Regions from separate parts of the Homo sapiens genome. Here regions 1, 2, 4 and 5 are each linked to region 3. The links are contacts of gene promoters, found by promoter capture Hi-C in blood cells and fetal thymus (Javierre and others, 2016). All regions are on one chromosome and are shown on one strand. The core of a region is centred on a gene start or on the middle of the fragment in contact, and the rest is flanking DNA. Distances in the headings are between cores, read along the strand shown.

What was found. The method cuts DNA at HindIII sites, captures the fragments that hold promoters and counts their contacts. A CHiCAGO score of 5 or more calls a contact.
Region 1: a fragment that was not itself captured here is called in contact with the fragment with the promoter of RNF145 in region 3 in 1 of 17 cell types (total B cells); the score reaches 6.2 in total B cells.
Region 2: a fragment that was not itself captured here is called in contact with the fragment with the promoter of RNF145 in region 3 in 1 of 17 cell types (total B cells); the score reaches 5.0 in total B cells.
Region 4: a fragment that was not itself captured here is called in contact with the fragment with the promoter of RNF145 in region 3 in 4 of 17 cell types (erythroblasts, total CD8 T cells, naive CD8 T cells and 1 more); the score reaches 5.5 in erythroblasts.
Region 5: a fragment that was not itself captured here is called in contact with the fragment with the promoter of RNF145 in region 3 in 1 of 17 cell types (total CD4 T cells); the score reaches 5.4 in total CD4 T cells.

What each region holds. Positions count from the first base shown.
Region 1 is chr5:157,802,265-157,806,862 of GRCh38, reverse strand. It overlaps CLINT1 (clathrin interactor 1), which reads left to right. Exons shown (of 12, transcript NM_014666.4): 7 at 751-997; 8 at 3,144-3,213. Among named protein-coding and RNA genes, the nearest start is that of CLINT1, 55 kb to the left of the region's middle. The HindIII fragment of the contact is 991 bases long and covers 2,230-3,220 here.
Region 2 is chr5:157,267,678-157,271,248 of GRCh38, reverse strand. The region is part of intron 1 of CYFIP2 (cytoplasmic FMR1 interacting protein 2); the gene reads right to left. Among named protein-coding and RNA genes, the nearest start is that of CYFIP2, 3.3 kb to the right of the region's middle. The HindIII fragment of the contact is 1,573 bases long and covers 1,483-3,055 here.
Region 3 is chr5:159,206,632-159,211,034 of GRCh38, reverse strand. It overlaps RNF145 (ring finger protein 145), which reads left to right and starts at 1,482. Exons shown (of 11, transcript NM_001199383.2): 1 at 1,482-1,804. LOC107986468 (a long non-coding RNA gene) reads right to left here and starts at 3,008. Exons shown (of 2, transcript XR_001742943.2): 1 at 2,355-3,008; 2 at 883-1,176. RefSeq lists enhancers at 1,010-1,109, 2,697-2,816, 2,927-2,976, 3,067-3,116, 2,716-3,371 and silencers at 1,280-1,569, 1,610-1,799. The HindIII fragment of the contact is 10,196 bases long and covers 1-4,403 here.
Region 4 is chr5:160,393,242-160,398,136 of GRCh38, reverse strand. FAM200C (family with sequence similarity 200 member C) reads left to right here. Exons shown (of 2, transcript NM_022090.5): 2 at 2,598-4,895. The coding sequence starts at 2,647. The coding sequence ends at 4,431. Among named protein-coding and RNA genes, the nearest start is that of FAM200C, 4.4 kb to the left of the region's middle. The HindIII fragment of the contact is 1,131 bases long and covers 3,054-4,184 here.
Region 5 is chr5:157,849,822-157,854,430 of GRCh38, reverse strand. All of the region lies in intron 1 of CLINT1 (clathrin interactor 1), which reads left to right. Among named protein-coding and RNA genes, the nearest start is that of CLINT1, 7.0 kb to the left of the region's middle. The HindIII fragment of the contact is 9,777 bases long and covers 1-4,609 here.

The DNA of each region.
Region 1 (4,598 bases), core at 1,476-3,975, 1.4 Mb after region 3:
AGTTTTTAAAATCTTTTTCACTATTAAAGAAAAAGGAAAGAAAAAATTGTTGAATGTGGCTGAAGGAGAATTATCTTTAAAATATTTTAAATACAGTTGTTTTCTAGAAAGCATTTTCTATAGTTATATAAAAGTTTGATCTCCTGATACTATAGTAAAATAGCACAGTTGTAAAGTGCATTCCCTTATATTTTCATGCATTTACAGATGAGTTTAATTATTCGAATTAAGATGTGTGATTTTTTTAGCATCCATTGAACTTTTATTATTTTATTATGTACACACATTAGTCTTTGAGAGTTGATGCAGAATTGTGTTGTAAAAGTGGAACTATAGTAATTTGCACACAGTCCATGTCAAGAAAATAATCATCACATGCAAGTGTTTGAACTCTCAGGGTCTTATCATGGATTCTGATATCAAATCCTATTTTATTTTTAAGTTAAGCTTAAATCTGTAATAAAAACGAGTTATTTTGACATTTTTTATTTATACACATTTATGTAAATACTTTTTTGTAGCAGTATTTTAGACTTATATAGGATATTCTCTGTGTTTCCACTTCCCCTCCCCAGCGCACATATATCATTATTCAGACAGCTTAGATAACATTCTGTTGATCCCTGTCAAGTAGTCAAAGTATGAAATTTTGGAGTTACTGTATTTGAAATTCTTTAGCTCAAATCACTGAGGGACCCATTTTAAAATAATCCCGTCTTATTATTTTGCTTCATTTTTAATATCTTTTAGCGACAGCGATGAGGAAAAGAAAGCGAGAAGAGGCAGATCTCCCAAAGGTGAATTCAAAGATGAAGAGGAGACTGTGACGACAAAGCATATTCATATCACACAGGCCACAGAGACCACCACAACCAGACACAAGCGCACAGCAAATCCTTCCAAAACCATTGATCTTGGAGCAGCAGCACATTACACAGGGGACAAAGCAAGTCCAGATCAGAATGCTTCAACCCACACACCTCAGTCTTCAGTTAAGGTGGGAATGGCAGTAGTTTACACATTATACATGGTTTTATTTTTATAAACCGCTCTTCGAATTCCTGCATTAGTAGGCTTGGGCATTTCTAGGCAATCATATTAATTATGGATCATCTGGCATGTATTACCAAGAGACATTAATAATAAGAAATCTCTTTGAGGGGAGAAACCTGTCCAATTGCTGAATGATTGGGTACTTTCTATGAAAGTAGAAATGACACTTTTGGTTTGTTTGGGGAAGGTTGTGAATCAGAATGTAGTGCCTCTGTCCCCATCTAGACAATACTGGTTACCAACCACAAGTAGATTCACTAAAGAAAACATTGGAAGTATTTGAAAGTTTTAAGAAATGACAAACGAGGGAGTAAGAAGAGATATATAGGGGCAAGTTATCTCATGTAATGTAGAAACGTTGCCTATAAAGGGAGGCGTGTTTGCCTCACAGTCATTACTGATCAGTATCAAAAGAAGCACTGCCTCTTGTACCATCTTCGTTTGTTTTTATTTACCATAGAGATGAAATCCACCTGCTAGGTACCTGGCCAAACCCTAGTCTTTTCAACAGAAATCTGCCAAATAGGGAGATTTGCCTCAAAAGACTAAATTATTGTTTTTGTCACTTTCCCCGACTACTGTTTCCCCAGTTTGTGTCTTTGCAAGAGAAATAGCTAAAAGCTGGGAAAAACAGTTTTCTAATGTATGCAGCAGATTGTAGGTGACTCTGAAAATAAAACCAGGCCTGCTTAGTTGCAATAACAAATACCATGTCAGCTTTTGCCAAATATCTGTATAATTTTTTTAATAATAGAGACTTTTATCACATATCTTAAAGGATTTTAAATAACAGTTTGTAGTATAGCCTGAATATATGACACTCTGCAATAAATATTTTATATTTGTAGTACAAGCTTTTTCTTTTTCTTTTTCTTTTTTTGGAAGACCGAGTTTCGCTCTTGTTGCCCAGGCTAGAGTGCAATGGCGCGATCTTGGCTCACCGCAACCTCTGCTTCCCAGGTTCAAGTGATTCTCCTGCCTCAGCCTCCCGAGTAGCTGAGATTACAGGCATGCACCACCATGCCCGGCTAATTTTTTTGTATTTTTAGTAGAGACGGGCTTTCTCCATGTTGGTCAGGCTAGTCTCGAACTCCCGACCTCAAGTGATCCACCTGCTTCGGCCTCCCAAAGTGTTGGGATTACAGGCTTGAGCCACCGCGCCCGGCAGTACAAGCTTTTTCTTTTTTGTTTTCATTTACCCTCCTCCCCTCAAAAAAAATGTCTAGAAGGTTGAAGTTCTTAGAAAGTTACCCAACTCATTTGGATCTGTTCTTAAAGGTGTTTTGGAATCACAGTATATAGTATTTTAGTTTTCAAAGTTCAAATCAACATGCCTAGGATCTTAGGGTTTCCCCATTGCCTAATAATTGAGTTCTAATTTAGCATGTATATATCTAACATATAGGACATAGGTATTTAGGTATCAGGGTGCTTAGCTTTGTGGAGAAGATAAAAATAGTATTACAGGTATAGGCCTCAGTTTAGTTGGGGAACTAAATATGAAACATATCAATATATCAAATAACATAGAATTATACTAACTTGTGTGATATACAAACAATAAGTTTTGCTAAGGTTCATAGAAATTTAGAGCTGTTTAGGATCTTGACCTCTAATCCAGTGGATCTCAAGCCTTGGAATTATCTAGGGAGCTTTCTTGTAAGACTTTAACAGGCCAAGGTCTTGGCCTTTTTATACCTGGGCAATTATGACTCAGTGTATTGTATGGGACTGGTACATATGCTAGGGTATTTTTTTTTTTTTTTTTTTTTAATGAACTGATACTTAGCATTAAGATTCAAGTGGGATCTGGCAGTTAATATTTTCCAGAGTGAAATGCAGTCAGAAAAGTGAGGTAGGAAAAAAAGTGTCAATGTTAAGAGACTTTTACACTGCTGGGAATGGAGGTACTTAAAAGTGCTTGCTGCCTCTCCATAAGGATTCAAGGTCAGTACTCTTTTTCCAGAAAACCCTACCCTTATTAAGCTAATTACAGGTATTTATGTCTAAATTGAGAATTAGAGATGGATAGAGCTGATTTTTAGAAAAACAAACTTTTCGAAGCTCCTGAGTTATGTGTGTGTTTTCAGACTTCAGTGCCTAGCAGCAAGTCATCTGGTGACCTTGTTGATCTGTTTGATGGCACCAGCCAGTCAACAGGTAAGCTTCTACATTGGCCTTTTCTTTTGGTTTGAGAGTCATTTTTTAAAATGCCAAATAAAAGATAGATTGAAAAATAAGATTACTTATTTGCATTGGGTTCATTTTTTATATGAAATTAGTGAGTCTTGAGCATTATTTGGAATCATTGTGTTATTTTTGCTTATCTTTTTATATGTACACCCATTTCTCTATCCCTATTTTATACCTTTTTCTGACCCACCCTCAGACTAGCAAAACTTTGTTTGTGGTCAGTACTTATTGGTGGTTAATAATAGTATCCTCAAATCATTATCATACTTAGATTTTAATGACTCCTCATACCTGATGTACTGTGTCTTCCCTAATTAATAATAAATAGTATTTCAAGGCATCATGTACTTTCTGAAATTTTTCATCATAGATTTTGGAATCTATAGTTTCCATTTTTAATTTTTAAGATTAACTTGGAGAAACAAAAAATTGCATTTAAACTGTTGCCTTTACTTTCTTTATAAGCAAAAGGTACTGCTCTGCGCATTTTACTGTCTTTCCCTAAATTTTAATTGCAGCTGTCACCTTGGGCATGCCTAGAGATCATTTAACTTTTTATTCTTTTAATTGAACAAATATTTGTTGAACCAGACACTGATCTGGGTGCTTGTAAAAAACAGAGTTGTTGTCCTCATGCGAAGGTCAAGTGGAGAAAATAATCATTAATCAGAGTCACAAATAGTTATCTAGTGATAAACAATGGCAAGTGCTTCAGTCAGAGGAATGACATTCTCTGAAAGTATGTAACTACCAAACATATTTAAAGAGGGCGGCTGGGCGTGGTGGCTGACCCCTGTAATCCCAGCACTTTGGGAGGCCGAGGGAGGTGGATCACCTGAGATCAGGAGTTCGAGACCAGCCTGGCCAACATGGTGATACCCTGTCTCTACTGAAAATACAAAAATTAGCCGGGTATGGTGGCAGGTACCTGTAATCCCAGCTACTCGGGAGGCTGAGGCAGGAGAATCACTTGAACCCGGGAGGCGGAGGTTGCAGTGAACGGAGATTGCGCCATTGCACTCCAGCCTGGGCAACAACAGTGAAAAACTCCATCTCGGAAAAAAAAAAAAAAAAGAGAGGGCTACAGCAAAAGAACTGTTTACCTTGAATTTCTCATAGATGAGATTGATGATTTCTTCAGTTTGATTTCCAGTATGTGCTAGATTTTGAGTAATTTCTGATCAATTGTTTTCAAGAAAATTGATATTTTTAGGGTTGTATTTGATGATTATGGAGTTTTAATAAACTATTGTGTGACGTGTCAAAATAGTTTAACAAATACATCTTCTGTTTAAAGACAGTCTTTCCAAGCCTAAGTTCATTTCACATTAAAATGTAGACAGTAAGATGGG
Region 2 (3,571 bases), core at 1,020-3,519, 1.9 Mb after region 3:
TGGCCAAGGTATACAGGGCATAATAAACCTGTCCAAGGATACTCTTCCTTTGTGCCTTTGCTCAAACTGTCTCCACTCCCTTATGGACTGTCTTCTTCCCTTCTCAAATCTTACCGATCTATCATGGCCCACACGAAGACATGCCTTTTCCACAAAGGTCTGACCAGCCAAGCCCCTTAATGACCTTTATTTCTCTCACTCCCTTAGCACTCACAGTCTAGAGTCCACAGTTTTTAACTGCACGACAAACTGCTTTATATTTCACTAATTCTTTGGATTGCTAAGAATGCCAAGGATAGTCATCTTATCTGAGTTTGACCCATAGCAACCAGCACAGAGATAGGCACACACCAGGAATTACTTGCTTAATTAATACTTCATGAATGATTTGTTGACTGCATGAGCCAATGACCAAAATTCTTAACTTCTGGTTTAAAAAAATTAACAAGAAAGTTAAAATATCATGCTTCTCTAAGGTCCCATATCCAAGGCTGCCTTGTCAATATAAGAATCTGAGGAGAGTTCTTTAGAAAATCCTTCTGTCGTATAGTTTCCACTTCAAACCCTAAGAAGCAGGTCCTCATTTCTCTTTCCCATATGGAAGTATAACAGACTTGGAGATAGGGGGCTGACCTCTAGTTCTGAATTCTTATCTTGCCATTCATATCTTGCCAAAACAAATCTTAAAGCATCATATTTTAAAAGCACAAATCAAAAATAGTTCTCGGATATTCCTTAAGAGTTACTGCATGTCTTCTCTGAGGGTCAGCCCTGCAAATTCTCTTTGATCTCAGCCAGGCCTTCAGTGAAGTTAGACAATTCTCTCATTCTTCCCCAGTTTATTTCTTATTCCACCCACATAGGCAACTGTTCCAAACCCTGAAGTCTCCTGAAGTTTCCTAACCAGTCCATCACCTTTATTTCCTGCAGAGGACCTCACCTCCTGCCTTACTTAGAAAACAGAGAACATGGACAGACTAAACACACCTCTGTTTTACCTAGAGATTAAAGCCTAAGAACCATTGCTCTACAATGACCAAATAATGACGCAAACAGAATCAAAAGGTCTACTGATGAAGTCATCACTGGGTCTTTCTCAGGCATCTCGCAAGAAGGTCCTATTTACTTCCCTCTCTCACTGCCTGTATCTGAGTTGCCCAAAGTCTATCAAAATGCCACGCAACCAGAATGATCCCTGCAAGAAATTCTGCCTGAACTCAAGCTCTGCCTTCTCAAAACAATTTCTTTCAAGAATTTGCACCCTCTGTTGCCAGGGCCCAAGTATGGCTTAAATGGCTATTTTTTGAGGTACATCACACACAGCCCTTAGCATAATGCCCATGGCTAGAAAGCCAATATCTAAGCTCTTTGCATCCTGGGAGGCGTCCCATACCCACTGACTGAATTCTGAAGTGTCTTTGTACAGACAAGGCCATCCAGGGGCCTTGACAGAATCTGTGAATCACAAAGTGCCTTTAAGCTTCCCATTGGCTCAACAGTACAGAGAGGCCACAGATCCATCTTCTTAAAGTGACACACAATATATAATTAATAAATTGTTTCTTAAGGAATGGAGGGCATTTACCCAAAAGAGTCACACATTCAGGAGGCTCCTTCTCTATTTCCACGGCTTTTTTTTCTCAGACTGGGATTTACAGACATTACCTCATCCGCAGGCTTTCATGATGACAGGCAGGTAACAGTTGGGCAGGCTGCCTTCCATTGCTCAATTTTGAACGTCAGAGAGGTAGTGGCTGGTTTAAGGGCACACAGCAAGTCAGGGATCCTGTGTCCCATGCTCACTGTGCTGCTCTGTCTGCCCTGGAAGCAAAGCATGCCCTCAACATTTTTGGATGGTTGCAAAATGCTGAATTCTCACAGAGGAAGAGGCCCTTCCTTAACTCTACGTGTTGAAATGTGAGAATGGCCCTGGGCTTCTGCTTGGCTTGTTCCCTCCCACTTCTCCCTACCTACTCAGGTTCCACCCACCTCTCTTGTGCTACTTAAGAGCACTTCCCACCTGAAGCCTTTCACTTCATGCCCTATCACTCTTAACTTTCCCTTCCTTCGGCCGGTAAACTTGGGGCTGGGTTTACTGGTCACAGAGACCAACTTCCCTCAAAAAAGCAAAATTCAGGAAAGCTCTGGAGGGAGAGGGGCTGGTAATAGCCAAGGGTTGATTACATACATAAGCCAAATTCTTAATGATTATGTAATTAATACATTATAACAATAAATACATAAATATGCTAGTACTTACTATGTGCTAAGCATTCTGCTCGGCACTTTCATGCACCCCTTGGGTAGTAAGAGCATCCAAAGATATTCTAGTTCCTCCCCTGCCTCCATTCACTGCCAAGAAGGCAGCAGCCTGCCCCCCTTCTCCCACCATCTCACTACTGATGCAGGGGCCATCCCCTGGACCCTAGGCATGGCTTTGCTCCTCAGAATGACAGGACCAAAAGCCTTTCATAAAGACTCCAGTGAGGTGACTGATGTCTGGCTTTGTCAATTACAAGTGAATAATTAATACTTGCCAGTAAAGAAATAGACTCATTGTTACGGTGGCCACATGGAGGCTACAAAAGGCCATTTTGTGACGCTTTTGGTGGACCCCTGGGGCCAACAGTGGTCCAAAGAAGCTGCGTTGAGAGTGTAGTCCAATCTTTAAACGTAGGGACTGGGACCCGTACTGTTTTCCAGGAGCGCTTTTCCCGTTAATTAGCTTGTAGCCGATTCATCATCTCATTCAGCTTTCTGGTTGATGACAGCAGCAGAGGCCACTGAACATCAGAGAGGGCATGATTTATCAGAGGGGTCATGTAGTGTTCTACCAGGGCCTTTTACCGGTTTTTGAATTCATGTCTACTTCCTTCTCTGGGCCAGCATCTGATTTGAGTAAAACTCTCCAACCCCACTGGGTTGTACATCCGACTCTTGGCCTAATGCCTAAAGCAAGTTTTTCCTTTTTCATTTTCCAGCAGGGACTGAACAAGGCAGCCTTGGGTGCCTACAGAACCGGTCAGAACTGGCCAGGAAATATAATAAAGAAGCTTAGTGAGCAGAGAGCTAATGCCCCCAGCCAGAGGCTCAGTGCGCACAACTAGCTAGAGGCACTGACTTTGTAAGCAACAACACTATCTTCTTGAGGTCTAATAATTGCCTTGGCAAAGGGCAGCCAATGCCAACGAGGAACCCTGTGTACACAAGTTTCTCATCCCGAAAGTGGACACTGGGTGCTCAAAAAATGCCTTCTGGTGACAGTAACACCTGACCAGTCAAACAAACATGCACGCATGCACATGCATGCATACACACTCTTACAGCATTCCTGCCTGCAGGGCCAAAGCTGCCCTTGCCAAATACAGAGCTGACAGCTGCTAGATATTGTCATTTCAGGGACCCGTTCCCAAAAGAACTACCCAGCTCCCCACCTCCACTTCCAGCCCACTGTTTGAAATTCTACCATTAGTGATAGCAAATATTTCTACAGTGTTTCCCATTAAAGCTTTGTTTCCCATTAAAATGCCTCCATCCTCTGTTTCTTTTCCGGTCAAATGACTTGTAAAGC
Region 3 (4,403 bases), core at 233-2,732:
ATTTTTTTACTTACCAGGCTAGATTAAGAGACTCATGAACTGCATCACTGGGATGTGACAGGATTTATGACTATGGTGAAGTAGTCTGAGGCACCTGGATGAAAGGTGGTTATAGTGAGTTATGTACACAATTCCCACACATTTTAAACACTTGATTCCTACAGAGCTATCAAACTAATGGAAGGCAAGTTACTCAGAGTTTGGTTGACTGATACCTCCAGGGATTGCATTTTCTAAATACAGAGCTTGCTTTCACAATTTCAGCAGGATACAAGAGTGTTCAGAATTGGGGGTTTACCATTCAAAGGGCAGAGGCCAGAGACTTGAATTTACAAGGAGGGTCCTCAACACAGACATCGAGATTACAGTACATTAATTTCTCTTGCACATGAAGAAGTTGAGGCTTCACAATTTCAGCATGACCCAGTATAGTTGCAACATCTTACCCATCACTGGGTGTGTATCTTCTGTGTACACTGGCCCTTTCAACATCTAAGGCCAGGCTAGGTGCTCATAGCAACTGGCTCCCCAGGAACTAACGAAAGAGAAAGCAAGAAACAGTGGAGGGGTTTTGGTGATGGTGGAAGGCAGGGGAGATAGAAGTGGGGGTTGCAGAAGGTCGTGGTGAGGCAGAGTGGCAGACAAATGGGGAATGAGAAGTCTTGCCAAGCCCAGAAGACTATCGTTGTGTAAACACACAATATGCTTCAGGCTATGTATTCTGGGCAACAGTTCCTGCCCTAAAAGGTGTGGACATTTAAATTAGGGTAGGATTGCGCATTCTGTGATAGAGACTGGCACAGAGACAAAGTGGAACTCCTCTACGTTGGGGAGGGGAAAACATACATTAGCCTGTTTTGAACCTTAGACCAAGACAAGACAAACACACAAACACCATTTAATTTCATACTGCAATAAAATTCTTTGTACCAAACCATGGGATCAAAATTGTTACAGATACTCAGTGAACAGTTCCAATGCATTCATTCATCCAGTCACTTACTCCACAGGGGTTTGAGTGCCTGCACTTGGTGCTGGGCACGGCTGAGCCATCCCAGACGCCAAGGAGTTTACAGTCTAGTCCAGTCAGTGACGAGGTTAAAACGAATTCTCGCATCATTGCTACTGCGAATGCACCGGGACAGGATCAGCCCTTCAAATTCTCCCACGTGGTCCCTGCAGGTGAGTGTGGGTGTGAGCGCTTGCGGCCCGTGGTGTTTGGGAGTGAGAGAGCACGTGTGTCAGAATGGCGCCTGTCACAGTGCGCGTCCAGGTGTCTCTGCAGTACGCCTCTCCATAGCCACCCGAGCCGGGCTGTATGGGCTTGGCTAGGCTTATGTCTCCCGCCCACGCACCGGAGGCGGTGCGGAAAGCACTCCGCGGGCGCGATTGTGAGTGAGCGCGGGCGCGCGCGGGAGGGGCGCGCCGCGCTGGCTGGGCCGCGCGCAGGCGCAGAGTGCGGAAGTCGGGCCGCGGCCGCCGCAGAGCGCCGGGGGCGGGAGGAGCAAACGCAGGAGGCCATGGCCGCCGACGCCGGCGCCGGCTGCTAAGGGGCTCGGCCCGCGAGCGCCTGCTGCCGCGGACGATGGTGACCGTACGGGCCGGGCCGCTGCCGCTGCCGCTGCCTCCGCCTCCCCAGAAGCAACATCCGAGGCTCGGCGCAGAAGAGCCGCCGCTGTGAGCCGTGCCGTACCGGCCCCCGCCGCCGCCCGAGGAGAACGGGAGGGCGGGCGAGAGAGCCGGGGAGTTGCGGAGCCCGCCCGCCGGCAGCGCCGCTCCCCAGGGAGGGAGTCCGCAGCCTGAGGTGACCACGCCGCCCGCCCGGCCCCTTCCCATCCCCGCGCCCCCCGGCCGCTTCCCACGGCCTCCCTCCCCTCCCCCATCGCGTCGCAGGCTCCTTCCTCTTCTCCCTGTTCGCCCCTTTCCTTTTATCTCGCTTCACCTCCCTCTTCTCCCTAGCATTGGAGGAGTCCACATCCCCTCTTCAGCCGCAGCACCCCTCCCTCCCATCCTCTAGCTCTTCCCGCGGTGGTCGCCTCCCTCCGACCCTGCTCTCCCCTCCTGGGCCCCGCGCAAAGCCCCCTCTGTTCCAGCTCCCGGGCCTCGGCTGCCTCCCCGCCCTCCCATCCCTTCCTCTTCCCAGGGCCTGGAGCGCTCCCTTACATTCCTGAGATGCCCTTCCTCGGGGCTGTCCCCCTTTGCCTCCCCAGCATCCCATTTCTAGGCCTTTTTCAAGACCCTTCCAGAGCGGCCCCTTTCCAGCTCCCTTTCTCGTTTCCATTTCCAACTTTGCCTCTTTTGCCTCTTTGTTCACTTTGCTTCCAAGCTCCCCTCCCTCTTTCCCTTCGTCTTACCCTGCTTTGATCTACGCAGCCCCAAACTCAAGCTCCCCGCTTTCAGGTGGTGCGAGGTTGTTTGGGGGTGCGGAAGGGCCTGCCAGTCCATTTTTCGAGGGGGGCCCATTGCTCTGCATCCCGTCCGTCAGTCCCTTTTATAGTAAGAGGGCTCCTCATCCCTTCCTTTTTGTCCCCGTGGTTTCCTCTGTCTTGCCATCCCTTCTGTCTTCTCCCTCCAATACTGCTTTCCCCACCCAAGGACCCTCAGACCCGTGAACCCCCTTTCTGGAATGAGTTCCCTTTCTGTTCGGGGATGCTGAACTTCGCCCGCGTTTTTCTTCGCGAGCCTTTTGGTACGTGGCGTGGCGCGACAGAGTCAGCACCCTTGGCGAGATAGGAGGGGAGCTCTCGAGCCTCTTTCCTGGAAGAGTTTTTGCTGAACGTAATCTCTTAGCCCCGCGGCGGCGGCGGCCCGGTTGCTGCTGCTACTGCTGCTGCGCTGCCTGCTTGCCGCGAGCTGGGTTGGGGTTACTGTAGTTCAAACGCATCTGAGATCTGCAGGCGTTGTGGGAGGAGGTGCGGGGAGAGAGGAAGGGGCCTGTGCAGTGAGCAGGCATCAAAGATTAGTGGATGGCCTTGCGTCGCAGTCTGCAGTAAAGAGGAAACTAGTCTGAAAGGGAAGGAGAGGACTGTGTGTCTTTTTATTTTTTAAAATACGGAGTGTGCAGTTTTACTGAATCTTGAATCATGCCCAAAAGAATGAGCTGTCGGTGCTGCAGTCGTGACCCAGGCTGAGCGGCCGATGGCAGAGGTAGCAGTTTTATTTCCTCTCTCTGTTCCTTAAGTTGAAAGATGGCCTTTGTATTCAGAGTAGACTCCCTGTCTTTGCGGTTTGGGAGATGATGAGAAACCACAGAATTGCTAGTAGTTTATGTGGAGATCAGGTACATACAAAGTTAGCTAGCAAGGAGTGGGAGTGGGGAGGACCAGCTATATTTAAAACATGTGCCATTGCTTATGTAAGAAATGCGTTCTCTTTCCTGGTATCTCAGTTCTGGGCTTTTACTTAGAATTTTAGGCTCTAGCTTTGTGCTCTTAACATTTTCAGTGAGGCCTACCATCCTAACCGATGGACAGCCCGAAAATTTACTTTTCTTAAGATCAGTTTTAGTTGATGGTAGAATTTTTTTTTTTAACTGGTTGGGAGAAAGAAAGGAGATAATGGTGAATGATGATTTTTGTTTTTCTTTTTTAGGGGGAAGGTGTAGAAGTATTGTACTGAATAGTTTTAAGTTGGGTCACGTGTCATTCTTGTTTTTTCTTTGTCTTTTTAAAAAAAAGTTTAGGAGGTGTATTTTTGAAGAACTCAAATAAGAGAAATAAAAAATCACATTTTTCATTTCTCTTATTTGACATAGTTCTTCAGAGATTAGCTGTGACTGTAAAAACCTACATTTTTCTTATTCAGGACGATTTGTTTGGTTTCTTCATATTCAAAACTAAAATCCCGTATTTTCAGGAAAGTGTAGAATGAAGCCCCCTGTGTTTTCTAACCCACAAATTTGAATGGTAAACTGTACAGCATTATACTTCTACAAGACATTACTGTTTTCATAATTACGGATTGCTGCTTCTAAGCCTGAGAAGGTCATTTAATGAACTCATTGAGGTCTCCTTTTTGGTTAGCATTTGTTGCACCTCTTGTGGTTTTTGGAAAGAAATGCCTTTTTTTTTTTTGGTTTGTTTTTAGCTGTTTTACTGTGTAAAACATCTTTGAGTCACATTTAGTTTATGTTACCTGCAGACACATCATGTTGGATATTACTTTCCCAGTTCTTTTCAAAGTTCAAGGAGGACATTTTAAAATCTTGCATGGAAGATAAAACAGTATAGGAAGTTTATGTATTTGGCTTTGGGTGTGTTAAACCTTTCGGTTTTTTCTGCTTTCAGCTCTCCTGCTTATTTTCTAGGATTATTTGGTATTATTTTGTTTTCAAGAGAATATTGAGCTCCCCTGTACTTTAGGATATGCTGATTAGCCCTGTTTGACAATAAATCTGGAACAGG
Region 4 (4,895 bases), core at 2,370-4,869, 1.2 Mb before region 3:
CCGAGTAGATGGGACTACAGGCATGCGCCACCACACCCAGCTAATTTTTGTATTTTTAGTAGAGACAGAGTTTCACTATGTTGGCCTGGCTGGTCTGGAACTCCTGACCTCAAGTGATCTGCCCGCCTTGGCTTCCCAAAGTGCTGGGGTAGCAGGCGTGAGCCACCGTGCAGGGCCCCTCTTGTAATGATTTCTAATGTGACTAAAAACATTTTCCTTTATTCCCTCTTCCTCCCCAAATATTACATGATAAATATACATTAATAGAATACAGAAAAATAAGCATTTATGGTAATGTCATAATTTTATCGTCATTAATTAGAAGTGGTTCTAAGCAAAAGTGGTCATGTAGTCTCATTACTTGACAAAAGAAGTCTTAAGATCAGCTCTTTAAACTTCAGGTTGTCTTTTTTGATTGGCAGACATCCTCCAATTTAACAGGCTCATAACAACCTTGTAACAGCTCAGCTTATTTTATTGGAGTACACTTTACAACTAGTTCATCTTGGTAGATCCACTTGAAAGCTAATGCTTTAAGTGGATATTCTTGGCTTGTGATTTTTCTTTTAATGTCCAAAGTGGGCATTCAGATTTAAATGTGTACCTGTTACTTTATTTCAGCCACATTCTCTGGCACAGAACTTTGGAAACTTTGGGGATCACTTACTTATCTTGGAGATAGAATGTTTTCTAAGGTATATTTGAGCCTACCTGTGGATTATGCCTTTACTCGTTGCTAAAGGGAGAGAAAGAGAAAAGATATGGCTTTCATTTTAGGTTTCAACTTTCATAGGAGGCTGTCATCAACTCAGAAAATGTAGAAAATTTAAATATCTATTAAAGCATTGGGACCATTCACTTAGAAACCTAGAATATTTGTTAGCTAAGGATTGGTTTGAAGGATACGTTTTTATTCCCCTAAGCCTGACTACTTAACCAGGTTGTGTTTCAGGACTGCCTGAACAACATTATTTCATATTCTTTTGTTCTGCTTCTGGAGAAGATATGTATTAGTTCTAAGGTAGTGCAGGGACGTGTATATTTTGAAAGGGTTTCCCAGTGATTGTGATGATATGGTGTCTCTTGTCACAGATCACTGTTCTAGTTACTATTTATAAGAATTATCTAAAATACTTACAATACAGATTCTAGGCCCCCACTCCATAGCTGGAGAATCAGAATCTCTATGGGTAGGGCCTTCTACATCCTGTCTTTGGGTTAAACCAAACCTTAGGAATGCTGCTTATTTTGTGTATGTGCATGTGTGTGTTCTTGACTGCTTTCCCTTAGAGGTATTTAGGTGGAAAAGCATCATGAAATTCGTTATTTTACTTAAGAGTGTTCTCCTATGAGAGGGATTTTTCTGAAGTCTCGGTAACAAGAATAGTTGTGTTTCCCCTGAGCAAGTTGTTTTGCTTTTTTTTTTTTTTTTTTTTTTCCACAGAGACTTGCTCTGTCGCCCAGGCTGGAGTGCAGTGGCATGATCTTGGCTTAGTAGCTGGGACTACAGGCGTATGCCACCATGCCCAGCTAATTTTTTGTATTTTTAGTAGAGATGGGGTTTCACCATATTGCCCAGGCTGGTCTCGAACTCCTGAGCTCAGGCAGTCCACCCACCTCAGCCTCCTAAAGTGCTGGGATTACAGGCATGAGCTACCACGCCCGACCATTTTGCTTTTTTATATGGACACTATGAATCATGGACTGATAGTGTGTTACACTTAGCAGCAAGGAAGCTCTGAGCCAATTTGTAGCCTACCTTTGCATCAGGGGTGGCTTAATCAGACTTAAAGACCTATTTGAAATTCTCTGCCTAAGTTGGAGTCAAAACTGCTCAAGGTTCAAATAGTATTACAGACCTGTTTAGTCTTTAACTATTAAAAAGAACTACCATGTTCTCACTCATAAATGGTAGCTAAATAATGTGTACACATGGACGTGGATAATGGAGTGATGGGTAAAGGAGACTTGGAAGGGTGGGGTGGAAGAGTGGGGTGGGAGGGAGTAGATGAGAAATAATGAGTACAATGTATGTTATTTGGGTGACGGATACCCTAAAAACCCTCACTTTGCCACTATGTGGTCTATGCATATAACAAAATTGTGCTTGTACCCCATAAATGTATACAATTATTTTAACCTCCATGTCAGAATCCACCCTTCCTTATTTAGTGAATTGCTCCTTTATTCAGTGATTCTTAACTGAGGGTATGCATACATCTTTGGGGCTGAGTGGAAGAAGGTGGTGGTAGTGAGATGCCCTTTCTAGGGATACAAAATGTGCTAGATTTGTTTGTAACATACATTATTGAAAACAAGTTAAGCCATAACTATAATTCACCAATAAAGGACTTACAGGTGTTCATAACTTGTCTAAGCTCAAATCTCCCATATATAACTTGCTGGCAAATCATTTATTCCAGGGCATTAGCTATGAGTTGCTAGCTTTAAGTTGAACTATATCCTGTCATGGCTTACTTCGAATTGACATGCTGCAGGCTGTATCTTGACATATACAAGATAGCATGTGATGTGGCTTTGTTTTAATTCAGTTAGCCACTGGTTTTTAATGTGTGGGTTATATTTTACTCCCAAAGCAAAATTCTGTGGCATCTCTGGAATACTACCTGAGAATTTTTGTGTGCCATGTCGAAGAAACGCAAATGGGATGATGACTATGTTCGCTACTGGTTCACCTGTACAACGGAAGTAGATGGAACTCAGCGTCCACAGTGTGTGTTGTGTAACTCAGTATTTTCAAATGCTGACCTCAGACCATCAAAACTGTCAGACCATTTTAACAGACAGCATGGTGGTGTAGCTGGGCATGATCTCAATAGCCTGAAGCATATGCCAGCACCATCTGATCAGAGTGAAACCTTGAAAGCATTTGGAGTTGCATCTCATGAGGATACTTTATTACAAGCATCGTATCAATTTGCGTATTTATGTGCCAAGGAGAAGAATCCTCATACAGTAGCTGAAAAGTTAGTGAAACCTTGTGCACTGGAAATAGCACAAATAGTTTTGGGACCAGATGCACAAAAAAAGCTTCAGCAGGTACCCTTATCAGATGATGTGATCCATTCTAGAATTGATGAAATGAGCCAGGATATCTTACAGCAAGTTCTAGAAGATATCAAAGCCAGTCCTCTTAAAGTGGGTATTCAGCTTGCTGAGACAACTGACATGGATGACTGCAGTCAGCTAATGGCATTTGTGCGCTATATAAAAGAAAGAGAGATCGTAGAAGAATTTCTCTTCTGTGAACCATTGCAGCTATCCATGAAAGGAATAGATGTGTTCAATCTCTTCAGAGACTTCTTTCTGAAGCATAAGATAGCACTTGATGTATGTGGCTCTGTTTGTACTGATGGTGCCTCCTCTATGCTAGGAGAAAATTCCGAGTTTGTTGCCTACGTGAAAAAAGAGATACCTCATATCGTAGTTACACATTGTTTATTGAATCCTCATGCACTTGTCATAAAGACATTGCCTACAAAACTGAGGGATGCTCTGTTTACTGTGGTGAGGGTAATAAATTTCATCAAAGGGAGAGCTCCAAATCATCGCCTATTTCAGGCTTTCTTTGAAGAAATTGGCATAGAATATAGTGTCCTCCTTTTCCATACTGAAATGAGGTGGCTTTCCCGAGGCCAAATACTTACTCACATTTTTGAAATGTATGAAGAAATAAATCAGTTTCTTCACCACAAGAGCAGTAATTTAGTTGATGGCTTTGAAAATAAAGAGTTTAAAATTCACCTAGCATACCTTGCAGATTTATTCAAACACTTAAATGAACTCAGTGCATCTATGCAGAGGACTGGGATGAACACAGTATCAGCTAGAGAGAAGTTATCTGCTTTTGTTAGGAAGTTTCCATTTTGGCAAAAACGAATTGAGAAAAGAAATTTTACCAATTTTCCTTTTCTTGAAGAAATAATTGTTTCAGATAATGAAGGCATATTCATTGCAGCTGAAATAACACTGCATCTGCAACAATTGAGCAACTTCTTCCATGGATATTTTTCCATTGGAGATCTTAATGAGGCAAGTAAATGGATATTGGATCCATTTCTTTTTAATATCGATTTTGTTGATGATAGTTATTTAATGAAAAATGATCTTGCTGAATTACGAGCTAGTGGCCAAATCCTAATGGAATTTGAGACAATGAAGCTTGAGGATTTCTGGTGTGCCCAATTCACAGCATTTCCAAACCTGGCAAAGACAGCTCTAGAAATCCTTATGCCATTTGCAACTACATACCTTTGTGAGTTGGGATTTTCATCACTTTTACATTTCAAAACAAAGTCCAGAAGCTGCTTTAATCTGAGTGATGATATCCGTGTGGCTATTTCAAAAAAAGTTCCTCGTTTCTCGGACATCATTGAACAAAAGCTACAGCTACAGCAGAAGTCACTGTAAGCTGATATACTTTTTTAATGAATAATTTCAATCTTAATATCATTGTAAAATTAAGCTGTAATTCTGTCTCTTTCATATTTATGATATACTGAATTCTATGTCTAAAAAACTTAAGAACTTTAATTTTGAATGAGGCATGTGAAAATATGTTTTGAGAATAAAAACACAGCAGAAAAGATTAAGTACTACTGCCTAGTTGCTATCATGAGATTTTCCCAATTCTAAGTATCTGTTTAACCTGTTCGTGTGGTATATGAAAAAGATACCTAAGCACTAGAATATCCAGCTAAATGGTGCAATAGGCTAGGAATTGAGCCAGGAGAAAAGAGAAGATATCCCAGAAGTCAAAAAGGCAAAATGAAAGATTGAGTTCGCCCGTCTTTGTTATGGAGAGGTTAATGAAATCAGAAGAGGATTATGAAATATAATGGGAAAAGGAATGATCTGGCTTATGTAAGACTTAC
Region 5 (4,609 bases), core at 581-3,080, 1.4 Mb after region 3:
AAATTTTTTTGTGGAGAAGGGTTCTTGCTATGTTGCCCAGGCTAGTCTTGAACTCCTGGGCTCAGGCAGTCTGCCTGCCTCAGCATCCTGAAGCGCAGGGATTACAGGCGGGAGCCATTGCGCCTGGTCTAGTACTCTATTTTCTGAACTCGAAACATACAATACCTGCCTTCAAGAACCTTGCCACTACAAATATGCTACAACTTGAATGGATTATTTTTCTTTTCTTTTCTTTCAGTCTTCAGATATCATCCCCTTTATTTTCTTTATCTTACCAGTAAATCTCTGTTCAGTTTGCTTCTTGGAATTTGAAAGCAGAGATAGTAAGATAGTTGTCAGCTTTCTAGTCTTCCCATGTCAACTTTTCTTTGAACCGATTATAAGTAATTGTTATTGCTGAAACAATGAATTAATTATTCTCCTCCTTTTCTAGTAACTGGACACAAGTAGATATTAGGAATTTAATTCCAAAGAAAGATGAGTTTGGTTTATCTCTGCTAGCATTTCTTAGGGGTAATTTTCTGTAGTTTAATCTATTTAGTACTACTGTCAGGGTGCTTTTAAAAAGCACTTAACTGCCTCTTATGTTTTCTTGCACACTTTAGTATTAGTTTACAAGCAGTTTTTCTTTTTTTTTTTTTTTTTTTTTTTTTGAGATGGTGTCTCGCTCTCGTTGCCCAGGCTGGAGTGCAATGGTGCGATATTGGCTCACTGCAACCTCTGCCTCCTGGGTTCAAGCAATTCTCTTGCTTCAGCCTCCTGAGTAGCTGGGATTACAGGCACGTGCCACCATGCCCGGCTAATTTTTGTAATTTTAGTAGAGACGAGATTTCGTCATGTTGGCCAGGCTGGTCTTGAACTCTTGACCTCAGGTGATCCACCTGCCTCAGACTCCCAAAGTGCTGGGATTACAGGCGTGAGCCTCCGTGCCCGGCCTACAAAGCAGTTTTTCATCTGTTTACTGATATGTCCATTGAAAGTACTTAGCCTTTTTTATTTTGAGTGCCATTTGCTAGTAATCCAAGGTTTCACAATATGGCTCTACAGTTGAGTCTTTTTCTGGACTTTTTTTTTTTTCTTTCTTTCTTGAGATGGAGTCTTGCTCTGTCTCCCAGGCTGGAGTGCCATGGTGTGATCTCAACTCACTGCGACTGGCCTCTGCCTCCCAGGTTCCAGCGAGTCTCCTGCCTTAGCCACCCAAGTAGCTGGGATTACAGGCATGTGCCACCATGCCCAGCTAATTTTTGTAGAGACGGGGTTTCATCACTTTGGCCAGGCTGGTCTCGAACTCCTGACTTCATGTGATCTGCCTGCCTTAGCCTCCCAAAGGGCTGGGATTACAGGCATGAGCCATTGCCTCTGGCCTTTTGTATGCTTATATTATTTTCCTACTTGTTTCCAATGTTTGTTTTAATGAAGATCACTTCACAGATTCAAAGTACATTTTTAGTACTTTTGAAGGTTCTTATATACAGTTAACTTTTTAGTCTCAGCTACCTTTGGTGACAACATATTTTACTGTTTACTCTTCTGTGTTTTTCAGGTTAACGCTTCATGTGAGCTTTCCTTGTTTAGCTTAATTATGTGTGTTTGTCCATCTATGTATTTTTATAATAATTTGCTAGCCAAATATACTTTGCCACTATACTTAGGTGCCTCCAGATGGTGTTTAATAAATGTGGGAATAGCTAGTGGTTCAGAGGTGAGAACTGGATTGAAATCTTAGGTCTGCTACTAGAAACGGTGATCTTATGTGTTAGAATGGTATCTTTATTTCTCTGTAAAATAGAGATGATATTTTATAGGATTATGAGGATTAAATGTGAAACAGTATAGTACTTGACATACAGTAAACTCTTGAAACATCTATTACTGTTATTACTGTTACACACAAAACAGTATAACACTAGAAAAATCAAAGGAATACAGTGTTTGTGAAAATAGAGATATCATTGTCAGACTAGGTTATTTGTAAGTATGTAGGAACTATATCTTCATCCATGAAATCATTATTTTCAGTGAGTACTCTCTCTTAAGACTCAGTTTAGCCTACATATAGGACAGCTAATTTAAATACCTCTGTTGTTTATGCCTTGTATTATTTTTGCTAAATCATAAATGGCTTCTACTTTAATATTGCAAAGCATATTGCAGAAATACCCTTTCAAAAGACATGTTGAGGAATAAAGTCTTTGGAAAGACATATCGCGAATTCCATCTGCCAATTCTTAATATTTTGTTCAGCTTGTTTTGTGTATTCTCAAGATTTTAAAGTAACTGCTAATGTAAAACATTACTAAAACATAAAAAGATTTATTTCATAAATGCAAATTGAAGCAGACAATTTATTCTTAAGAGACTGAACAATATCAAGAAAAAGAATCCTCTAAAATATGTGATACCAAATTCATGGTGTTTGACAATGGACAAACAGTATATACAAGGAAAGCACATTGGAGAAAGGGCTTTCTGGTTATTCAACCCCTCAAATTGGCAAGAAATTATTTGGCTTACCAGGGCTCTTTTGCCTGAAAATTAAATACAGGTAAAGGAACGTAATATATTCCTATGTTTGAGCCAATTTATAGCTACTTATTACTTGTGGATAGATTTAGCTAACGAATTATTAAATGTGAGTGATTTTGTTAATGTGCAACAGTGCACATGAATGGTTTGTACTTCATTTAAGAAGAGTCTAGTTAGCCAATTTTAGAATATTTCATTTCTTTTTTTTTTTTTTTTTTGAGACGGGGTCTTGCTCTGTCACTCAGGCTGGAGTGTAATGGTGCCATCTCTGCTTCAGCCTCCTAGGTTTAAGCGATCCTCCCAAGTAGCTTAAGCGATCCTCCCAAGTAGCTGGGACGACAGACACATGTCACAACACCCAGCTAATTTTTGTATTTTGGTAGAAATGGAGTTTTGCCGCATTTCCCAGGCTGGTCTCGAACTCCTGAGCTCAAGCAATCTACCCACCGTGGCCTCCCAAAATGCTGGAATTGCAGGTGTGAGCCACTGTGCCTGGCCTAGAATATTTGTTTTGACATGAATTTTATTTAGCTTCTCAATTCTTAGGACAGTATTTAAGTTCTAGATAACTTTAATATAAATAATCTTTTATAATTTTGCACACACTCATCATTATGTGGTAAACGTACATGCGTGCTTTTTCAACAACTATTGAATGAAATGTTTCATTCAAGAATTCTCATTCAAATAGCTTATATTTTTATAGTAGAAAAAAGGCATGCATTGAAAATTCAATTTTCGGGTTTTTTGTTTGTTTGTTTGTTTGCCATTTGTTTTCATGCATTTTTAGTAAATCATTAAAGAACAGTGCAAGGCCAGGTGCCGTGGCTCACAACTGTAATCCCAACACTTTGGGAGGCCGAGAAGGGAAGATCTCTTGAGCCCAGTAGTCCAAGACTAGCCTGGGCAACACAGACCTTGTCTCTACAAAAAAATTAAAAAATTAGCCGGACATGGTGATGCATGCCTATAGTCCCAGCTACATGGGAGGCTGAAATGGGAGGATCACTTGAACCCAGGAGTTGAAAGCTGCAGTGAGCTGTGATTGTGCCACTGCACTCTAGCCTGGGCAACAGAGTGAAACTTTGTCTCTAAAAAAATTTTTTTTAATATTAAAAAAAAGAACAATGCTAATAGGCATACTGAGCCTTTTTCTATTAATTTTTCTCATACTAATTTTTCATTTATCACTTTTTAAAGTGACTTAGGTTATACGGTTGAAACTACATGTCTTAATTTGTAGTTAAACCCCCATGGTTAAATAATTTTTTTTTTTTTTTTTTTTTTTTTTTGAGACAGGGTCTCACTTGTACCCAGGCTGGAGCGCAGTGGCATGCACGATCTTGACTCACTGCAGCCTTGACCTCCTGGGCTCAATCCATCCTCCCACCTTAGTCCCCCAAGTAAGAGGGACTACAGGTGCTTACCACCATGCCCGGCTAATTTTTTGTAGAGATAGGGTTTCATCATGCTCCCCAGGCTGGGCTCAAACTCTTGAGCTCAGGCAATCCGCCCGCCTCAAGCCTCCCAAAGTGCTAGGATTATAGGCGTGAGCCACTGTGCCCAGCCAGTAATATCCTTAGTTTGATGTATTTGGCTTATAAGTTCGGTACTGAATGGGGCTTTGAAGGATGGCCTGTTTCTCACTAAGCATGTAAAATGTTTAGCCCTGTCATCTGCTGTCCACTCAGCAGCGAGAGGGATTCTTTAAAAATACTAAGTCAAATGGGTTCAGAATTCTCCAGTGGCTTCTCATCTCATTGCTTAATTGCCTGTACAGATCTGGCTCTTTGTTGCCCCGCCTGTGATCTCTTCTCCCACCACTGTCCCTCACTTTCTCTGTTCTGTTCAGTGGACCTCCTGTATTACATAGTATGCACTCACACTCGTCACTATTTTTTTCTGTGCTTGCCTTCCTCTGTTACATGTATTCATCTCCTGCCTCTGATATGCAAGTTCCTTGAGGGCAGGAACTTTGTTTTGTTTACTGCTGTATTACTAACTCTTAGAACAATTATGACACATAGTAGGCGCTCAAATATTTTTGAATGAATACATTAAATTTGGTAAGTTGATATTTATT